Regions from separate parts of the Homo sapiens genome. Here all the other regions are linked to region 1. Evidence: promoter capture Hi-C in 16 types of primary human blood cells and fetal thymus (Javierre and others, 2016). All regions are on one chromosome and are shown on one strand. The core of a region is centred on a gene start or on the middle of the fragment in contact, and the rest is flanking DNA. Distances in the headings are between cores, read along the strand shown. Region 1 holds the start of FTX (FTX transcript, XIST regulator). Region 2 has its middle 15 kb from the start of PBDC1. Region 3 holds the start of NAP1L2 (nucleosome assembly protein 1 like 2).

Region 1 (4,172 bases), core at 897-3,396:
CTGGGCGACGGAGCAAGACTCTGTCTAAAAGTAAATAAATAAATGAGCGAGAGAGAGAAATAGGCCCAGAGAAGGAAAAGGACCACCATGAAATAATAGCTAGGATTACTGGGAAAAGATGTTTTTTTCAGTTTTTAATCCTGTGCTCCTTCTAACTATGTCTGTATCTAAGTGCTAACTTACTAGTTTTAGCGATTAACAGCAAGTCTTCAGAGAGTCATGACAGTACATCTGCCTTTAAAATAGAAACTCTAATCTTCTCCCTTGACAAAACCGTGCTGAAAGTTCTACAGAAGAAAAAATAAAGGAAAGGGTGAAAGCCCAGGTTACCTTCATACCACCACTGCCATTAACTACTTTTCAATCTTTCTCCACGACAGTATGAGTCCCAGGCAGCCATAGGTCCAAATTCCAGGTTTACGGCAAAGAGTAACAAGCATTTGGAAACACATCCAAATCCTCACGCCTATGTTCTCAGGGAAGAAAATCAAGAGCTTTCGGCCAACATTAACATTGGATTCTCACACTACAACCACAGTGTTTTGCTACTCTGATGGGGTGACTGTATTCAGAGCCAAGTACAGCGACCCAAGATCGGAAAGCCAGAGAGCCCTCCGAATGCGTACTGCCCAAATGTGGCCTGTCTCCAAGTGCTCCCTTTTTACGCATTTCCTACGCACCGCCAGCTGCCGCAACCTTTTGCAGAGTCATCATCGCCTCCTCATTTTTGTACCCACTTACCGATAGGCCACTGAGAGGCTAAGATTCTGGGTTAATTTCTAGTGGATCTGGCCACAGCATAGGAGAACTCCAACTCAGGTTGATCCCTTCACTCAGCTAAAAAGGTAGTTCTCTGCAAGGCCTGCTAGCCCAAGATGGCCAAGCAAAGACAGCTTACCTCCCCCCTCGCCATTTTGCAACCTTAATTACCCGAATGCTGAGCGCCTCCCCTCCCCGGCACTCCGTCTGAAATACGCATGCGCGCCGCTTCCTCCTTACCGTTCTCCCCAACCATCCAGATGTTGTCTCAAATATGCATGAGCGCCACCTCTACCTCCCAAACGCTGGTACCAACTCCTAGCAACTTTGCGTTGTTAAATATGCCTGCGAGTCCTTCACTTCCCGACCTTCCAACCCTCCAACCCCGACGCCATTCAAGCCTTGCGCATGCGTGCCTCCCTCTCCCCACCCCCGCCCCACTGGAGCCCGTCCCCTTAACTCAGGTCTTCTCAAATACTGTAAGCTTGAGCGCCGCCCCTCGGCGCCGCGCCTCCTCATCCAGCCTCTCAAATACCCTGCGCACCGCGATAGTCCTCTCTCTTCTTGCTCCCATTTGTATACAGTATGCATGCCTGATGCTATCTGGACGTGTTTCTCGCCACAATTCTGCCCCAGTGCCCAAGGAGAGCCATTACCAGCCTTCCCTAATGCGAGTAGATGCGATAAACTAGGGAAGTTGAATCGGGGAAAGAAGGCGTTGCAGGTGATCAGAGTGAATCCCAGATCTAGATGGAATCGGTCCCAACTCCAAGGGAGGGGGCTAGAGTACCCCAGGATTCACATAAGACCGGTCAACCTGAACAAAGGCAAGGAAAACTTTCACAAACCATCGGATGAACATAATCCTAAGGCCTCGCCCTTTAAATACATCTGCTACAAATGACGAACCACAAATGTTTTAAACAGGGAACATTATGGAAAACACCGATGCTCAGGTGCCTTGACTCTAGTTAGAGGAAAGGAACCCGCATTCCTTTCACAATGGGAAGCAAATGCTCAACATCCTTTTGGAAAACTGGGGCCTGTAACGTATTCCATTTTTTCCTCCCGTGAACTGGAAAAATGCACAAATTAAGGATCTTCCTGGCCCAAGTTCCCTCCGCCGCCCTCCATGTTCTGTTCTTCCCCTACATCGTTCCTTTACCTCCTGGTTGAATTCAGTGTCGTAGCAGGAATTCTTAGAGCTGGCCGTCCCAAGATGGGGTGGAGAGAGCGGCATGAAAGAGAGAGAGAGAGAGAGACACGCCTGAATGGCAGCAGCAGGCCTTAGCGGCAATGGACAGCAGGCACAGGACCAGCTTTGCCTCGAGCCGCAACGCTGATGCCAGAAAAGGACAACCTCTCCAGAATCGCCGCAGTGTGCTTCCAGCGCATGCGCTGCTAACGCCCCTTAACCCCCCCTCCGCGCCCCGCCTCCCCCACGCGCCGCTCTCCAGCCTCTAGGAGTCTAACCCTTAGCGGTCCACCGACCTCCTTCACTTCTTTCCCAGGACGCTATCCCACTCTGCTTCTTCCACCTTTCCCCTCCCCTCGGTCACACTGGCCTCCACCATCATCCCTCCCTCAGCCCATACTTCTTTCGTCAATCCCTCTCCCATTATTCTTAGCCCACCATCTACCTTTATTTCCTCTGCTATCGTTAGTGGTCTACCCTTCAATTCTTCACTTTCCCTGCCAGTCTGCAGCCCTCTTGGGCCTCTTACTCCTCTCCTCCTATGCCTGATGTTGAAATTTGTAAAAATTACCGCAAAAATTTTTTTTTAAATAATTGTAGCCCGGGCGCGGTGGCTCACACCTGTAATCCCAGCACTTTGGGAGGCCGAGGTGGACGGAACCCTTGAGTTCAGGAGTTCGAGACCAGCTCGGGTGACATGGCGAAACCCCGTCTCTACAAATAAATACAAAAATTAGCCGGGCGTGGTGGTGCGCACCTGTACTCCCAGCTATTCAGAAGGCTGAGGTGGAAGAATCACTCGAGCCCAGGAAGTCGAGGCTACAGTGAGCTATGATTGTGCCAGCTATGATGTTGCCAGCCTGGGCAACAGAGTGAGACCCCATCTCAAAAAAAGAAAAAAAATATTTCCACACATCCTCTCCAAAGCAGCTCTCAGGGTGAGCTCAACCAGCCTGTCTTGGGCAAAGAGAACACCTTTTTGATGATGACCCACAGGGAAGATCCAGAGACAGGGAACCAGAACAAAAACTGCAAAAGTGTTCAATCAATTTGGGGGTAAGAGGCAGTAGACCACCAACATGGAAAGCTCTTTTCTTTCTATTCACAACCCTGGTATTGTCTGGACATTAAAAATGAGATTCAATGTCCTTCACTGCTTACTACAAGGCCTGTTCTTGTCTTCTGTAAGAACTCAAATATTAATTTTGAGGGAAATGGCATTATTTACTTAAGAGGCTCTGAAATAGATCCCTCTTTGGGTGTGAACTAGAAAGAATACAAAATAATATTTTGTTTCTCTTTATTATGTTTTACTTTGGTGTCTGGTTCTTATTGCTTTCTAAAAGAGCCAGTTTGGAAATACCAAAAACTGAGACCCGCAAATTCATAAATCCTAAAACTCATAAACTTATACATCACCATCCTCTCAAATTAACTTAAGAATGTTATATCAACATTATTCAGAGAAAAATGGGTTTGCATTTGTTATATAATACGCCCAAAAAATTATACAACAATGTGCATATGAAGAAGAAAAAAGAGAAATAGGCATGCATTAAATAAAAAAGAAATGCCGAAATCTCAGTGGTACAAAGAACCTCTTCTAAATTAAAATAATCATTTATTATTACACAAAAGTTAAAATATAAGAAATTTTACCCCAAATTCTACAACACTATTTTAACAAATGCTCTTATCTCTGTTATTTTTCTGTTTTAATGGTTTTATTAATATATAATTTACATATCATACAGTTAACCAACTTAAAGTGTACAATGCAATGGATTTTAGTATATTCACAGAATTATGCAGCCACCACTACAATCAATTTTAGAATATTTTCATCACCCCAAAAAGAAACTTCATACCCATTAGTATTGTCTTAGTCCATTATGTACCACTGTAACAAAATACTGCAGACTCGGCAATTTATAAAGAACAGAAATTTATTTCCTCACAGTTCTGGAGAATGGGAAGTCCAAGACTGAGGAGCTGGCATCTGACAGTGGCTTTCCTGCTACATCATCCCATGGTGGAAGGGCAAAGAGATAGAGAAAGAGAGAGTGCGCGCAAGAGGGGGCCAGAACTCATCCTTTAATAAGGAACCCACTACTGAAATAACAAACCCACTCCCTCAATAATAGCATTAAGCTATTCATAAGAGTGGTGCCCCCATGACTCAAACACCTCCCTTTAAGCCTCACCTCCCAACACCACC
Region 2 (4,172 bases), core at 1,224-3,723, 1.9 Mb after region 1:
TTAACACCTAGACAAGGGGTTGATGGGTGCAGCAAACCACCATGGCACATGTATACCATATCACAAACCTGCATGTTCTGCACAGGTATCCCAGAACTTAATGTAAAATAAAATAAAATAAAGAAAGAAAAAATAAAAGGAAAGAAAAATCCTGCCTATTGGGCTCATTTATAGAACCACTTGAAAACCGCCCTTGTCAAGTAAAAATTTTCCAACAAGTAACCCCTTAGAAATGCAGCCTTCTTGTATACACATTATAGGATTTCATCAGTGTACAGGTGCACCAGGTGGCCTTGGGGTAAAGATAGATTAAAGATCATAAATAATTATCTGCATTTCAGTGTTAAGGCCCAGAAAGCTTCCCTTGCTTCCTTTTACCTCAGTGAATGCCCTCAGGCAATGCTTCTGGAGCCAGCTTACTCAATCTTTTCTCACCAGTAATGCCAGCCCTTCATTCCAGATTTTGTTGTTATATTTAACCCACCATATGCACTTGAAATCCTTACTTGAGAAAACTTGGAAAGTAGGGGAAGGTTTTCACAATAAATGAAAAAGTTGCCATAATTCTACAACCAATGTATAATGACTCTTAGTTCTTTAGTTTACTTCCCAATTGACTCTTTTCTATGGGAGTAAAATAATGTTGTATGCATGCTACTATGATGATATTAAATGGTGTCACTTGCTACATTTCAGGTATTGTTGGGTATGTGTGGTTACTATCATAAATGACTTTCCTGTTTTCTTTCGCCCACCCATCTTTCACAGAAAAAGATACTTAATATCAAAGTTAATCAGGTAATAAAAATTTTAATCATGGTGAGATACTATTTCTTTTCTATCAGATAACTCTTTGATTTGGGGACTAAAAAGGGTACTAGAAAATGACATCCTTAGGAAGTAATATCCGGGAAGCTCAGCTTGGCCAACTACGTAACACTGTGGCTATTTGAGGAAAGTGGTGATTTTGAAGAGAGGACTACATTGCCTTCTCAGGTGTGTCTCCTTTGCCCAGCTCCCATGGGATCAAATATGAATCCAGTGAGGGCTGCAAGTTATATTTATGAGTTCAGAAACAGTGCAAGTCACTTGGCACAGCCTAAATAACTCCATCTGAAAGCAGTTGGTCAGTGCAACTGGTGGGCCGGTGGTCAAAACAAAGGTTACTCTTGTGCCACCAGCACCAAGGAGCCATTCTTAGAGATGTCTGGTTATTCCTTGGTCCAGAGCCCTGAATTATCCTGTAGATGTGTCTGAATCAGAACAGAGTAAATACCAAGTTAGCAGGAAAAGCTCATCACTACTCTCATTCCTATCTCTCCTCTGGCTGCTCACCTAGTGAGCTCTGCAGCAATATGCTTAGTAGCCCCAGCCAGGGTGTGATGGCCACCAATGTTATCACCAGGCTTAGACAGAGGAAGGCTTGATGTTATATTCTGACATACAGTGCCATATCCTTACCTGAGAATGGAATGGAATGACAAAGGAGATCTGAATTATGGGTGTGAGAAAAGTTTCAGACAATTCTGAGTGAAAAATTAGTCCAATTCCTAAATGACCAAATTGTTCTGATTAGTTAGAAAAAAAGCACAACGGAGGCAGAAACTTTTCTACATTTCTAGCTGAGAAAATTTAAAGATGGGGCTTGAATTACCAAGTGTTAATAGTATTTAAAAATGTTTTATGTTTCTATGAAAAATTGCTCTGTGACTATAAGAAAGTAAAACAAGAAAGAAGGAAGAAAGGAAGCATTGAGACAGAGTAAACAAAGCCAATGAAGGGAAGGAGAAAACAGGGACGATATATAGAGAAAAAGCATGGGCTCAGTTCATTTTCCTCTTTAAAATCCAGAGCTACCTGCCTCTAAAGTTCAAAGTCTTGTCTATAACATCCTGGTGTTGTGCTTTCTGAGTGGGGCTTTCAGAACTTCCCTTGGGGAAAGCCTATGATGCACTGCAAAGAGATGGGCATGTCTGAGGTCAGTGCACATCCAGTGTGATAGCCCCAACTCACCACAGTATCAAGGAGTTGCAGCTGGACCCACAAGTACTAGGGCTAACATATGCCTATTTCTCCCCCATGCTCAACCTAGGTATCTCCCTTAGCAGATGTGGAGCAAAATAACCTTTGCAGAAAATAATCTTAGAGCTTAAACCTGAGCTATGTCTGGAAAGTCCATGGCATTCTGAATAATCTATAATTTACTGAGCATTTGCTGTATTCTAGTCCCTGTGCTAAGAGCTCATACATTCATGTCTTATATAATTCCATCATTGAAATAAGCACATAAGTCAAATGTGTCTGTAATCTTCACTTTCAAAGTGAAGAAGCCAAGACTCTGCATTTAAGAGACTTGCCTAAGTTCACATAGATAATAAAACTCAGTTACCTCCGAAATAAAAGATGACATAACTTTAACCACAAACCATCATGGCCCTGAAACTATGAGAGTAAGGTTGGTAACTTCCAAGGAGGAGGTGAATTTAAATCTATCCTGATTCCAGATCATTTGTACTGCCCCTGGTATAGTTGGAGAGGTGTCACTCTTTTTCTTTTTCTTTTCTCTCTCTCTCTCTCTTTTTTTTTTTTTTTTTTTTTTTGAGATTGGGTCTCACTCTGTCACCCAGGCTGAAGTGCAGTGGCATGATCTTGGTTCACTGCAACCTCCACCTCCCAGGCTCAGGTGATCCTCCCGCCTCAGCCTCCCACGTAGCTGGAACCACCACGCCCAGCTAATTTTTTGTATTGTTAGTAGAGACGGAGTTTTGCCCTGTTGCCCAGGCTGGTCTCGAACTCCTGAGCTCAAGCGATCCACCCATCCTGGCCTCCCAAACTGCTGGGATTACAGGCATGAACCACCACACCCGACCCACTCTTTTTCTTAAATGCATTCATGCACATGCATATGTACATATGTGCACACACATACTCATATACTAACACAGACTGGTATGGGACAGTCTGAGTCTTATGTGATCCATACTCAGCAGTTAACAATAATTATTTCTGTACCCTTACCTATGGAAGACATTCAATCAAAAGTGGCAATTGCTAAGGTTTTCATGGGAACTTAATGTGTCAGGAGATTTTAACCTTAACCTTAAGATGTATTCACTTCAGGAGTCAAGCGCCTTCCAGCATGGTCACAGGATAGTTTTCATGTCTTTGTCTTCCAGTAATGCTTTGAATGTATTGTCATTAATCCATTCATGCAACAAAAAGTCATGGCACTCCTCTAATATGTGTCAGCCACTGTGCTATTCCTTGGAATCACTATCATTATAATTACTACTGTCTTTTTTTTTTTTTTGGTAATGGTCAGTTTTAGTATAACAATATATCTCACTAGGATGAGTGCATTATAAGAGGGTACTGTGCATTTTTCATCACTACATGTCTAGGTCTTAGACACATATGGACATAGCTCTGAGTAGGCGATCAACAAATATGGGGGATTAAATGACAAATTTCATGGGGTATATAGCGTATGTAAGAAATAAGGAACACTGGAGCCCTGGCTGGCAAGATGGCCAAATAAGAACACCTCCAGTCTGCAGCTCCCAGCGAGATCAATGCAGAAGGTGGGTGATTTTTACATTTCCCACTAAGGTACCCAGTTCATCTCACTGGGACTGGTTGAACAGTGGGTGCAGCCCAAGGAGGGTGAGCCAAAGCAGAGTGGGGTGTTGCCTCACCAGGGAAGCGCAAGGGGTCCGGGAGCTCCCTCTCCTAGCCAAGGGAAGTCATTAGGGACTGTACTTTGCACTTAGGCCCAGATACTGTGCTTTTCCCACAGTCTTGGCAACCCACAGACCAGGAGATTCACTCTGGTGCCCACACCACCAAGGCCCTGGGTTTCCAGCACAAAACTGGGCGGCCATTTGGGCAGACACTGAGCTAGCCGCAGAAGTTTTTCATACCCCAGTGGCACCTGGAACGCCAGCAAGACAGAACCGTTCACTCCCCTGGAAAGGGGGCTGAAGCCAGGGATCCAAGTGGTCTGGCTCGGTGGGTCCTACCCCCACGGAACCCAGCAAGCTAAGATCCACTGGCTTGAAATTCTCGCTGCTACCACAGCAGTCTGAGCTCGACCTGGGATGCTCCAGCTTGGTGGGGGGAAGGGCGTCTGCCATTGCTGACGCCTGAGTAGATGGTTTCACCCTCACAGTGTA
Region 3 (4,172 bases), core at 505-3,004, 1.1 Mb before region 1:
ACGTGGCATGGAGGGGACCAAGAAGTTCTCTCTTGTACTAGAGGTATGAATGTGACCTTTTCAGAGTCTGCCAAAGGGAGAAGCAAAGCCTGTTTCCACATGCAAGAAAGGCAAAGTCAGCTCTGGGACAAGGGTCTGATCAACCACATCCCATTTTCCTGAATCAGGGCACTGCACTCCAAGCCCAGCCACAATTAGTAATGCAATCCCATATATATCCAGATGACACTGTGGAAGGGTAGGCAAGAAATATGAAATACAAACTAACACACAGGAACCTGTTATTTCAAAAGGGTGCTTAAATTATTAAATAGCACTGAGATTACTGGATTGATTAGAATTGAGAATTTTGTTTCCCTGCAACCTTGTGTAGTGAAAGTAGACTTGAGATTATGAACAGATCAATTATAAACACTAAGAAAGGTATACTTTCTTTGCACATTTTAGTATAGTCTTAGTAAATCTGCATGCGTGTATAAACATATAGAAATATAATTGTAGAAAATAAATCAAAACATTAACAGTGCTTATTTTGGGGTAGGTGGGTGGTATATGGATTTTGTGTTTAATTAATGAATTTTTTCAGTATTGCCCAAATGTCCCCCAATGAACATATTACTTTTATAACAAGAAATACATTAAGTTTTAAACATGAGACACTCTGAAATTTTTATTCTTTTTATTTTGCAGTGAAAGAACACGAAATATCTTTTCAAAATGGTAAAGTGATCACTTTCAATGAATGATGTAATAGGAAAAGAGAATTAAACACTGTAATTATGGCTTACACAATTACACAGAACAATATGTGCAAACTTTTGAAAATACTGTGACTAACACTTCACCGACAAACAATAACCTCAATATAACTAAGTTTCATTATTTATCACAGTTACATAAAATACAAGAGCCTATGAACAAGCTGTTATTAACAATAAATGTAGTTTTGCCTGAAATTCTTATCTATATGCAGGCCTCTTAAGCATCCAAGTTTTAAATTCTACTGCATTGTTATTGCAAAATGAAGCAGGCACAACAAAATTAAATCCACTAGCTAAAGGACTAAGTAAACAAAAATAGAAAAAGAAAAACAACAACAGCGAAAACCCTTGGGTTGTTTCCCAAGATTTTTTTTCCAAACAAATATTGATCTCACTTAGCATTTCTGATCATTTCATAGCCACAGATTAATAGCTACATGACAAAAAGACTTCAGAAGGATTAAGCTACACAACACTATACTAGTGTTTTAAATCATTTACCACAGTGTACATTTCTTGAAAACATTCTACTACTAAAACTCAAGGTCAAATTAATTAGTTTTTGAACTTTTCTTATATTTTTGAAACATATGTTTTAACTAACACTACAAGAAAAATACAGAACACAAGGCTTCTTATACCTTGAGTAACTATATCTAGGGCAGTTAATTTCAGGGCCATGTATACTCTGCTCTAACGATCAATGTCTTCTACTAATGCCTCAAGGTTTTTGCAACAAGCTTTAACTTCCTCAATTGCAGCCATCCAATTATCATAAATAATTTTGTCATAAATTGCATCATTAACTTCTCTAACTACCCCCTCCTGCTGAGATTCCAGTGCATCACCTGAGAAAAATAATACTGATCTTGGAATTATGTAAGTACGTAAATTGTGACCAAGTAAAAAATCATCATTTCCATCCCTTCCATTTGAGGTGATTCCATGAGGAGAGAAAAAATTGAAAAATGAATCCTTGGGAAAATCTTCAGTTACAGTTCGGATTGTTCCCCAGATCCGATGTTTCTGTTTCTTCTTGATGGTTTTCAAAGTGACATTCTTTCCTTCATTCCAATCTATCTCACAGCCTGTGGAATACTCAATCGCAGTTCCCCTATAGGGATGGGGATCATAATATGCTAGCTTTGACTTCAGCACATAGGTCTTTGTCAACAACTCATTTTTGAAATATTCATTGGGTTTGAAGTGAAATTCTAGTGTGAAACTGAGGGGCTCGCCAGGATCTGAAAGCTTAACTTTAATATCTGTCAGGAGCTTCAGAATAGGCTCATCATATTTCTTAATCAAAGGAGTGAGTGTATCAACGTTTTTTAAAACAGTTAGCCAAAAATCAGGAATTCCCTTAGGATCCTCCTCTTCTTTATTCTCTTCTCCAGTAGCCTCAATGTCGTCCTCCTCCTCCTCCTCCTCCTCCTCTTCCACAGCATAATCATAATAATAGTCCTCATAACCATCGTCCTCATCCACATATTCATGTACCATACCCTCCTCATTACCATACATCTCTTCATGACACATTTCCTCATCATCACAGTCCTCAGAGTCTGATTTATATTCACATTCCTCTTCTGTAGGTTCATAGATTGCATTGATGATCTGACGTCTTTTTTCCAGTAAGGGTTGGTACATTTCAGCAAACTTTCTTTCAATGTCATGAAATTCCCTCAGGAATTTGGATTCTAAATTGGCCGCTCTAGTTTGAAGCTTTTTAAGGGCTAACACACGGTACTTAACTTTCACAGGTAGACTTTCAACAAAGTCTGTATCTAAAACATAACCGATAAGTCCTTTTGGACGGTCTGCCTCTGAGTCCTCATCAGTATCGCCACCTTTTTTCCCATCTTCCCCGGACCCAGCAGCAGTATCTTCACCGTTTTCCCCTTCTTCCCCAAGCCCAGCGGCAGCTTCTTCACCGCACTTCCCATCGTCTCCAAGCCCAGCAGCGGCATCTTCACCGCGCTCCAGATGTTCCCCGAGCCCTTCCACCATTATCTGATTACCAGCCTCTTCTTGACTGGATTCTGACAGCTCCTTGCGGTTCTCTGACTCGGCCATTTTTCAAAGGACCGTACACGCCTAAGGTGGCTACCACAGAGATCGGGAGACCAAACCTCCACAGGAAAAGACTCACCGAAATATCAGAAGCGGCGGTGGTCGGACCTAGCAGTGGCGTCCGGACTGAGGGAACGACGATCCAGGCTGCTCGGGGATAAAAGATGGTGCTGAGGCTTTGAGAACCGGACTGAAGCAGTGGCGACCTGGGCTGGGTGCAGAGGGCGGCGACGGCTGCGTTGACCGATCCTGCAGGAGAGAGCCGGAGACTGCAGAGAGCTGCAGTGGGCAGACCTCCTCCGCAAGCAGCTACTGCTGCAAGAAAAAAACGGTGCCGCAGTATGATTACGCAGCTATCACTTGCCTAAAATTTCTAGGTGCAAATAGATTGCTGCGTCACCTCCTTCCCTCCCACAACTATGCTCTAATCTCATTTGCTGCAATGTAGTGACTGACAAACCCAGAGCCAGTAAATTATTAGATCTATCAAGTTTTCAACTCTGCTCACCTTCCCAGGCTCTCTAACATGGCTGATTCATCCACCTCCTCCTCGTCCTCTAGCCCATCTCCCGCAGAGTTTTCTGGAATCCCATTGCGTTCATTAGTTCATTCATCCAACTTTTAACAGATATTATACTTTTATGCTTTCCAGAGAGCTCAGAGAAAACGTAACTAAAATGTCGAACAATGAGAGAAGACAAGGCACCCACCCATCCTAAATCAATCTCTTTGATTTTAGATCGGGGACCTGGGGAGGGGAGAGGTGGATGGTGGAAGAGCTGATAAACAAACGCTTCAAAGATTAAAAACACCAGGAATTAGCACTGATGGTCTTTAGGTGGCGTGTCAGTTATTTAAATATTCTATATTATGTTTGTCGGTATTTTTCACAAGCTATATGATTTTAGGTTGAAAAATTCTCGAAACATTTCCTGTGAGGGGAGGAGGAGGAAGTCCGATGGCAGTGGGGGCGAATGAGGGCCTGTGATGAAAAACTAGTATGGTGTATACAACTACGTGACTAGTAAACATACCAGACAATTAACCACAATTAACCAGTTGCCTGGCTTATAAATAACCCCAGTCCCAATACTGACTTTCTGCTTCTCCTTCTTAATGCTGGCTTTAACAGCCGTTAGAAATATACATATATACAAAAGCCAAAATGGAAAGTTATGTTTATTCTTAGAAATCATAACATTTGCTTGATGCTTTTGAGTTAATTGGAAATAATCTAAATCTCAGCATTAAAGAAATGGTTAAACTATTTGATAATGTATTTATAGGATGGAAAGCTTTGCAGTAATTAAAATTTCCTCTCTATAGTAATTATTGGTG

What was found. Contacts are between HindIII fragments. The CHiCAGO score rates a contact against its expected background, and 5 or more counts as called.
Region 2: a fragment that was not itself captured here is called in contact with the fragment with the promoter of FTX in region 1 in 1 of 17 cell types (M0 macrophages); the score reaches 6.7 in M0 macrophages.
Region 3: a contact is called between a fragment that was not itself captured here and the fragment with the promoter of FTX in region 1, in 1 of 17 cell types (naive CD8 T cells). The highest score is 6.1, in naive CD8 T cells.

What each region holds. Positions count from the first base shown.
Region 1 is chrX:74,291,428-74,295,599 of GRCh38, forward strand. FTX (FTX transcript, XIST regulator) reads right to left here and starts at 2,147. Exons shown (of 7, transcript NR_028379.1): 1 at 1,925-2,147. LOC124905199 (a long non-coding RNA gene) reads right to left here and starts at 1,169. Exons shown (of 2, transcript XR_007068266.1): 1 at 331-1,169. RefSeq lists an enhancer at 611-1,401. The HindIII fragment of the contact is 8,135 bases long and covers 1,242-4,172 here.
Region 2 is chrX:76,155,510-76,159,681 of GRCh38, forward strand. No RefSeq gene overlaps it. Among named protein-coding and RNA genes, the nearest start is that of PBDC1, 15 kb to the right of the region's middle. The HindIII fragment of the contact is 4,234 bases long and covers 357-4,172 here.
Region 3 is chrX:73,211,656-73,215,827 of GRCh38, forward strand. NAP1L2 (nucleosome assembly protein 1 like 2) reads right to left here and starts at 3,196. Exons shown (of 1, transcript NM_021963.4): 1 at 644-3,196. The coding sequence starts at 2,837. The coding sequence ends at 1,455. The HindIII fragment of the contact is 511 bases long and covers 1,500-2,010 here.